Linked DNA regions of Homo sapiens: all the other regions are linked to region 3. The links are contacts of gene promoters, found by promoter capture Hi-C in blood cells and fetal thymus (Javierre and others, 2016). All regions are on one chromosome and are shown on one strand. Each heading gives the region's core, a stretch centred on a gene start or on the middle of the fragment in contact. The rest is flanking DNA. Distances are from core to core; before and after follow the strand shown.

Region 1 (3,030 bases), core at 170-2,669, 280 kb after region 3:
AAAATACCTGGGACTGTCCTAGTAAAAATTATATTACAAATATTGAAATATCTTAAAATCCATCTAAATTCAGCATTACTTCAAAATTATGGCAGTTGTTAGAGTTACCAATAGATGTAATTTATAGGCATTTGTATTATAAATTTGTTTTTAATACTTTGATAATTACTTAAAAATAATTTGTTTTATGTATTTTATGCCTCCATGAACATTATTTTGAGAAGGGATCCAGAAGATTTACCAGAGGGTCAAAAAGGCATATGGCACCAAAAAAATTAAGAACCAGGCCCTACAGAAGCTTAAATACGTAGAAAAGGATAAAAAATTTGAGGAAAGCCTAATTTGTCATTAGTAGAAGAAGGAACAAAACTAATTAATTCATACAATGAAATATTACTTACTATTCAGAGTTAAAGGTAAAGAAATGGATTTACTTCTATTGGCAGGGATAAATATGAAAAACAGCATTTGACGAGGAAGGGAAGTTACATAAGAGTGATGTCAGCAAGATGGCTGACTAGAGGTTCCTGGCATTCATCCCCCCAAGAAAGGATCAACAAATGAACAAACAGTTAACATTCAACTGAAGTGTCAAAGGAAGAGCACTGGAGTGCAGTGGGGGTAGCTGCGGTCACTGAAAGTCCAGAAGGCAGCATGGAGACACCTTGTCTCTGCTGCCCATGCCCCTGCATCCCCCAACTCTGACTGGCCTGGAGTCAAGAGGAGAAACTTTCCTTTGCTGGGAAAACGTAAGCAGAGCCCCATCAGCCCCCATTACCACTGCAAACACCTACAATCCTTACTACAGGAGAATTCCACAGTCCTCACAAGCCCTGAACCGACTTTAGAGAGCCACTGTCGATTGCACAGCTGCATTCCTCTGGATTAGGAACATGAGATATGTACTCTCCACCCCTTAGGTGCCTGCTGTGGGGCCCAGTAGCAAATGCACCTCTCCAGCCCAGCGGCTCTGTCATTCCACCAAGCACACATGGGTGGCTGCAATGCCACAACCCTGGAGGCTCAGAACCTGGGCCCAGGATTGGCTGTGACTCTGGTTCTGCACAGCAGGAAAACCAACCATCATTGCCTGAACTTCCAGGCAGAGAAACAGTCTAGCAAATTCTCCCAAAGCATACATACCTACCCTTGAGCTGGCCAAACTGGGCCCCTGAGCTGCTAAGCACCTGACATGCCCTCAGGCCAGAACCAGTACCAGCCTATCTCCTAAGCCTGAGAAACAGCCCAATGCCCCCTACCTCCATGGACATGCCTCCAGGCCTACCCAGTGGAACTGTGCCCAGGCTAGGGTATGAGAAACAGTCCAGTGGGCCCAATCCCAGCATACATGTCCCTAGACCTTCCCAGCAGCCCTGTGCCCATGCCCAGGGCCTGAGAAACAGCTTGGGAGATTAACTTCCAGTAGACACACCCCTGGGCCAGGTGAGCTGTCACATGACCATGCCCAGGGCCTAAGAAAGAGCCCCATGGGGTCAACCCCCATGGACACACCCCCTGGCTGGCTGAGAGGCACACCACTGTCCCAAGCCCAAGAAACAGCCCACTTGGCCCACCTCTGGCAGACACACCCCCAGGCCAAATGAGCATGCCTGTACCCAGGGCCTGAGAAACATCCCTGTGGCCCCAATCCCAGCAAGCAAGACCCCAAGTTGGTTGACACCGTTCACACACATGCCCCCAATTTGAGAAACAATCCAGTGAGCCCACCCCAGCAAAGCTGCACCACCACTGCTACAAATTCTCACAGCCTAGGCCACTGGGCACTTACAAACATCAGCAGACTGGATTACAGCTGAAGAATCTGCACAGACACTACAGTACTGCATCCACCTAGAACCAAAGCCAACACACCCCCCCTAACTGACACTATAAGATCCTCCAATACAAATACGTCTTTCCCTACAAAACCTTTCATCAAATTAGAAGAGGTGACTGTTCTACCAGATGCATAGAAATCAACATCAAGGAACATATCAAACATGAAAAAACAAGAAACCATGATACCTCCAAAAGAACACAATAATGCTCCAGTAACACACCTTAATCATAAGGAAATATGTGAAATGCCATAAAAAGAATTGAAAATAATAATCTTAAGGAAGCTCAGTGAGGTAAAGAGAATATAGCTAAACTGTTCCCTCAAATCAGGAAAGTAATTCATGATTTGAATGAGAAATTCAACAAAGAACATAAAAAAAAAAAACCCAACAGAAATCTTAGAGTTGAAGAATTCAATGAATAAAATAAAAAATGCAATCAAGAGCTTCAACAACAGATTAGACAAAGCAGGGGAAAGAATTTCTGAACTTGGAGGTAGGCCTTTTGAAATAACTCATGCAGACAAAAAAAAAAGAATAAAGAAAGCCTACAGAATGTATGGGACACTGTTAAGTGAACAAATATTTGCATTTTGGAACTCCAGATGGAGAAGAGAAGGAAAAAGGTATAGAAAACAGATTTAATGAAATCACAGCAAAAAACTTCCCAAGTTTTGGAAAAGAGATGAACATCTAGCTCTAAGAAGCTTAAAGTCCCCAAAGAGATTCAACCTAAACAGTTCCTCTCTGAGGCACATTATAGTCAAATTGTCAAAAGTCAAATACAAAGAAAGAATTCTAACAACAGCAAGAGAAAAACGTCAAGTCACATATAAGGGAATACCCATTAGGCCAACAGCAGATAGCAGAAACCTTACAGGCCGGGAAAAAAAGAAATAATATATTCAATGTACTAAAAGAAAAATATTGCCAGTAAAGAATATTGCTTTAATATTCTTTATTAAATATAAGCAAAGCTATTCCTCAGAAATGAAAGAAAATAAAGTCTTTTTCAGATATGCAAAAGCTAAGGGAAGACTAGCCTTACAAGAAACACTCAAGAGAGTTTTAGATCTGGAAGTGAAAAGACAATAACCACCACCATGATGAAAACAAATGAAATTATAAAATTCACTTGTAGAGCTGATATACAAAAGAGAAAGAGAAAGGAATCAAACCTTATCACTACAGA
Region 2 (2,832 bases), core at 266-2,765, 260 kb after region 3:
AGGAAGAGGCAGGCTAAGCATATCAAGGATCTGTTTAGAGCTGAATAGGGCATATTTTTCCTCCTCCACATCAAATGCAGCCATCACACTAACAAGTACATTTCAGTATGATTGTGCTTAGCACCTTTCAAGCACCAGCAGAAGTTAAAAAGGTTAATCTGCTTCCCACATAGTCTGCCTCCTGTGCCAAAGGTATTTTGTTTTTCCTTTGGAGTAAATTACATTCTAATACCAAGAAAAATAAAATTCCATTACATAAACAATTCTAAAGGATGCCTCAAAACTGGTTATTATAATTATATCCATAGTGAGTGCTACAATAATTTAACATTTTGAGCATTGGCTTCATGCAAAACACAATGCTGCCCGGTGCTTTACAAGTATTAATGCCTTTAATCTTCATAAGAACCCATTAGGTATTAACTATATGGCCTTGTTTTACAGAGAAGGAAACTTAGAAAGATTAAGTTACCTGCCTAAAGTCACTCACCTGTAAGGGACAGCAGAACTGGTTTACAAACTTAGACTGATTCCAGAGCTACTGAATGCAATACGAAGGTATTTAAGGCTCATTCCAGGATTAAGAGCACTAAGTGGCAGGGGAGATAGTGGTTAAATATGAAAGAATTTTAGAAGGAGGTAAGCATATACCTCATGTAAAGTATATTCACATGGAAATTCTTGCTGGGGTCCGCCAAGCTGCTGGGGCTCCTAAAAACCATCTTGATGCATGTCCATGCATAATGTCTCAGACCCATGATAACACAGTACCAGCTATGAGGAATTTAATAATGATAATTTATGATGTCACATACCATTTGATATTTATGAGAGCATTTAGGTTACATCATTTAACCCTTAAAACATCCTTGTGAGAGATATATGTAGCATCCCTATTTGTACAGAAAAAGAAACAAAGGCTTGAACAAATTCAGTGATTTGCTCAAAGTTTTAGGAAAAGTCAGCACTCAAATCCAGGTTAGTGAGGTGTGTTTGTTTGACTGTTTGTAACAACCCATACCTCCTTTTCCAAATTCAAGTTTAAGTCTGAATTTAACTTACATTATATCTTTTTCTAACCGCATAAATGATTAGTTCATTTTAACTTACCATGGATCTTCTGAGCTTCATATCACAAGGAAGGATATATCCAAATTATAAGCATTTCATCATGGAAGCCGCAAAGCACATAATAAGGAAGCCATATCCCACATCAGGACAATTGGAAGCTATTTGTGTAAAACAATACACACACTTCCTTGTCCTCAACCTCCAAAAAGAATCATTAATTTTAAGTGTTCATGTGTTATCTTGTATGATGCATCAGTTGGATAGTTCATGATGGAGGTCTTCTAAGCAAGTTACATCTAGATTTTCTACAGCAAGTACAGATCTGGAGAACTTGGATGAAATTAATTTTTAGATTTCAGGCTAGTTTAGGGAATCCCAAATGTTTGCCAAGAGTTTAGCATAAGAATCTGTATCAAGTGGCCTGTGCTTCAGGTACAGTTAATCTGAGCTAGAAATAATTCTCCTTCATAATGTTAGACTTCATGTCTCCTTGGAAATTTTCAGGAAACACAGTGTTTTAACTATGACCTCAATAGCAAACACCGTGAATGCCAGACGGAGTCACATATGTAGTGGTATAAAACTAGTTATGTTTGTTTCTTTGTGATGACCTCTCTTTGGTAATTCCTCATTCTTCTCCTGTCTGTATTACATTCCTATGTGTCTTTGCCTTTTCTGGGTGGTTATAGCCCTAAAGAAGTCCAGGTTTTAGGAGACCTAGAGAACCCCCCCAGTTAGAGTCCTGCCCTTCAGTGAATCTTGCTATGGGATTTTTCTCTGCATTCCCTCCACTAGTGCCCTCACCCTGACCCCCACTCCAGTCTACTCACAGTTGGAAAGCAGTTCTTCAAAACACACAGAACACTGCAGCTTCTGTTACCTGTCTCTATAGGCAGCTTGCAATAAAAATGACAGCCAATGGGAGAATTTTATTCTGAGTGTAAGTGCATGAGGGCTTCTCATCAACTCTGAGCTAGAACTCACTAAGTCTAATCATTGATGGTACATCTGCTTCTTGTTTTTCCTCTCTTGCTGTTACCTTTGGCAGTCATCACAATTTAGAAGCACATCTTCTCATTCTTCTGAGAGAGTGAAGGAGAAAAATCATCTTTTTTGCTACTCTGCTGGTAACAGTGAAAAAAACAAATTAAGAGAAAGGGCTGAAACAAAAACCAAAGTAACAATGTGTGGCTTATCCATGTCATCTGGGTGCCCTGAGTATTACTTGTCTGTTCACATATGACAGCGTTTATCAAACTCTTTTTTTGCTTTTATTATTTTTAGTTGACACAATGATTATACATATTTATGAGGTACAGTGTGATATTTCAAAGCATGTATACAACGTATAATGTTCAAATCATGGTAATTAGCATATCTGTCACCTCACTTATCATTTGTGTTGGAAATACTCAAAATCCACTCTTCCAGCTATATGAAAATACACAATAAATTATTGTTATCCTACAGTGCTGTGAAACACTAAAACTTTTTCCTCCTATGTAGCTGTAATTTTGTATCCATTAACCAACTTCTGGCTATCTCCCCGACCCCACCACCCCGTCAAAATTTCAATTGACAAATTTAAGAGAACAAAATATAGGTTTTTTTAATTACATAGGCCCTTATCATATGACCCACATATTTTAGGTATTTAACTGCTTCTAGTTTTTAAATCTCAAATATGTTCATTTCATGAGAACATGGCTTCATTTAGTCATGAAGCTCTCCTTATCATCCCACGCATACTTCTTACATAAC
Region 3 (2,935 bases), core at 81-2,580:
AGTTAGGATCTAGTAAGTTCTTCAGAAAGGTTAGGCTGACTATAAAGACAACACTGCAAAATTTAGAAGATTCTCTAGTTCACTTACTACAATGGACTGTGTTTTTTCTTAGAGATCAGGATTAATTATTAAAATATTTAAAGAAAAAGATGTTTCTAAGGCTGCTAGGAAGACAAATCATAACAGTAGATCCCAATAATAAGCCTATGTGTAAAACAGTCTCTTAAAAAAGAGGTGGCATGTGGCCGGGCGTGTAGCTCATGCCTGTAATCCCAGCACTTTGGGAGGCCAAGGCAGGCACGTCATCTGAGGTCAGGAGTTCGAGACCAGCCTGGCCAATATGGTGAAACCCCGTCTCTACTAAAAATACAAAAATTAGCTGGGCATGGTAGTGCACACCTGTAATCTCAGCTACTCCGGAGGCTGAGACAGAAGAATAGCTTGAACCCTGGAGGCGGAGGCAGCAGTGAGCGGAGATTGTGCCATTGTACTCCAGCCTGGGTGACAGAGCCCGACTCTGTCTCAAAAAAAAAAAAAAAAAAAAAAGAAGTGGCATGCATATTTAAAAGTAGTTACAAAGAAAGTCTTGGCAGTTTTTCAGAGCTCCCTTCATGTAATCACTCTATTACAGTGCACTCCTCAAGTTGAAAAGCTCCCATTTATTTAACATTTTTTTAAAGAATTAAATATTTTCCTTATTTATCCAATTTGCAAACGTAAAGCAAGGCTGCATCATCTCTCCTTTTTCCGCATCCTTCTTTCCGTCCACTAAGGTAGTTCTCTGGGACTGTTGACAGCTTCTGAAGGTGATTTGATGTGAACTCCCCCCTGACTCCTGGTTTGTCTGCTTCTTATAAAGAGATAGTATGCTCCAGAGAGCACCAGAGGCAGTTCTTACCCAGCAATCCCGGAAGCAATTTTCTTCTGCTTTTCTTACTCACCAGAGCCCTCCTGGAGGTTTCAAGCAAAGGAGCTGAGCAGTTTGCAGTAGCTACTAGATAGAGGTTCATAATGGAATAGCAGCTTCAGGTTTTTAATCCATCATTAGAAATAGTTGTTTTGCAACTTGAGAGAGAAAAAGTAGAAATCTATGGCATAATGAAGGGGGAAAAATGGGTCATGTTACTGTAGAGATAGATGCAAATTCTATATTATGTCATAAGTGAAAGCTTTTTCGGTCCATATGGGTATAAATTAATAAGAGAGAATGCTGTCAGCGAAGAAAGTGTAAGTACTTTGTCTGGAGAGTAAGAGACCGGCCAGTTAGTCCTAATAAATCCGAGGGTTTGGGGAGCCTCTTTTGAGATAGGTGATGCATTGCGCATTATTAGAGAATCTCTTGGCATGAGTACTTTTGCACCAAGCATCTGCTTTTAAGGTCTCTTCATGAATGTTCTTCTTATGTGCTGATATCTTTATGCTTACACAAACTTGGTGGAAGGCACTATTGTTGCATCATTAAATTACCTCACTGTATTCTACAACTACCCTACCTAATATGCTCCAATCACTCTTACTGTATTTTGTTTTCTTCATAACATTTCCCTGTCTGAAATTATTTTATTCATGTGGTATCATTTAAGTGCTTATTATCTCTCTCACCCTGCTCCCATCACCACTGGAGTAAAAGCTGTAAGTAGACACCTTGTCATCTTCTCCTGTATATGCAAGTTTCCATTTTGTTTCATAATTAGCTTCTCTCTCCTCCCAGCAAGGTTTTCAAGATCCAACCCAAAGACTGCTTAAGGAGTGGAACTTAGACTTCTTTTACTTCTTCAAGAGTCACTTCATGGATAAAAAGCATCCTGTTCTTGGGACTTTGACTCAGCAGAGCCAAGAACTTTCCTATAAGCTATTGCTTGGTTGTTAAGGAAGCACAACAGAATACCAGCCTGACGTGTCACATTCTGCATGCGCTCATTTATAATACAGTGTGGTATTTTTCACCTCCTATCTGCAGCAAGATGAGATAATCGCTGGCTGGTGTGAGTTTTTTTAGTATCTCTTTGCATCAATAGATCTAGTTTTCAGACTATATACTTAAGTTTATAAAACAATTGCTAACATTTGTTTTCTTTAATCAGATTCAATTTGATTCTTATTAAGACCATGTTTTAGAAAGCCCCCAATGGCCCTCATAATAGTGGGAAGTTTTAGAAACAAAGGCCAATATTATGAACACATTAATATATAACCCAGGTGTCATGGAAGTGCTCTCAAATAGGAAACGTGGAAGACATTAGTTGCCTGCATCCCAAGTCAGAGACTTATTTTCTTAATTTGCTTTCTGTGCCTCCACAATGGTCTTTTTCCTTAGCTTTGGAAAGAAATTATAACAGCCAGCTAACTTTATTGGGTAACATGCATCAAGCCCCATAGCAGAGGTTAGATATGCATTACCTTGTTTGCATAACAACCTTATGAGGAAGGTACTAATAAAATATGGGTATAAAAGACCTCCATAGTTAAGGAATGAGGAAATAATAATGCAAGTCTCTTTTCCTACAACATAATGGTCCTAAAACGTATGTATTTCTTTGCATCTTTTAAAATGCAGCATAAATGGGGTATTCTAATATCATTTTGTTTTTCTTCAGGTTTCTCTTTTGTACATTTTAATAAGTTTAAAATATATAAAGTGGCCAGGCATGGTGGCTCACGCCTGTAATCCCAGCACTTTGGGAGGCTGAGGCGGGCACCTGAGGTCAGGAGTTCGAGACTAGCCTGGCCAACATGGTGAAACCCCATCTCTACTAAAAGTACAAAAATTAACCAGGCATGGTGGTGGATGCTTGTAATCCCAGCTACTCAGGAGGCTGAGGCGGGAGAATTGCTTGAACCCAGGAGGCGGAGGTTGCAGTGAGCTGAGATCACACCACTGCACTCCAGCCTAGGCGACGAGAGTGAGACTCCATCTGAAAGAAAAGAAAAGAAA

What was found. Contacts are between HindIII fragments. The CHiCAGO score rates a contact against its expected background, and 5 or more counts as called.
Region 1: a contact is called between a fragment that was not itself captured here and the fragment with the promoter of PALLD-AS1 in region 3, in 1 of 17 cell types (monocytes). The highest score is 5.5, in monocytes.
Region 2: a contact is called between a fragment that was not itself captured here and the fragment with the promoter of PALLD-AS1 in region 3, in 1 of 17 cell types (endothelial precursors). The highest score is 6.2, in endothelial precursors.

What each region holds. Positions count from the first base shown.
Region 1 is chr4:168,930,031-168,933,060 of GRCh38, forward strand. It overlaps a transcript of CBR4 not described here. Among named protein-coding and RNA genes, the nearest start is that of CBR4, 79 kb to the right of the region's middle. RefSeq lists an enhancer at 798-1,299. The HindIII fragment of the contact is 2,247 bases long and covers 297-2,543 here.
Region 2 is chr4:168,910,250-168,913,081 of GRCh38, forward strand. The region is part of intron 15 of PALLD (palladin, cytoskeletal associated protein); the gene reads left to right. It also overlaps a transcript of CBR4 not described here. Among named protein-coding and RNA genes, the nearest start is that of CBR4, 99 kb to the right of the region's middle. The HindIII fragment of the contact is 3,838 bases long and covers 1-2,832 here.
Region 3 is chr4:168,647,257-168,650,191 of GRCh38, forward strand. PALLD-AS1 (PALLD antisense RNA 1) reads right to left here and starts at 1,331. Exons shown (of 2, transcript XR_001741449.3): 1 at 1,236-1,331; 2 at 640-1,088. All of the region lies in intron 2 of PALLD (palladin, cytoskeletal associated protein), which reads left to right. It overlaps LOC124900808 (a long non-coding RNA gene), which reads right to left. Exons shown (of 3, transcript XR_007058360.1): 3 at 2,896-2,915. The HindIII fragment of the contact is 4,235 bases long and covers 1,168-2,935 here.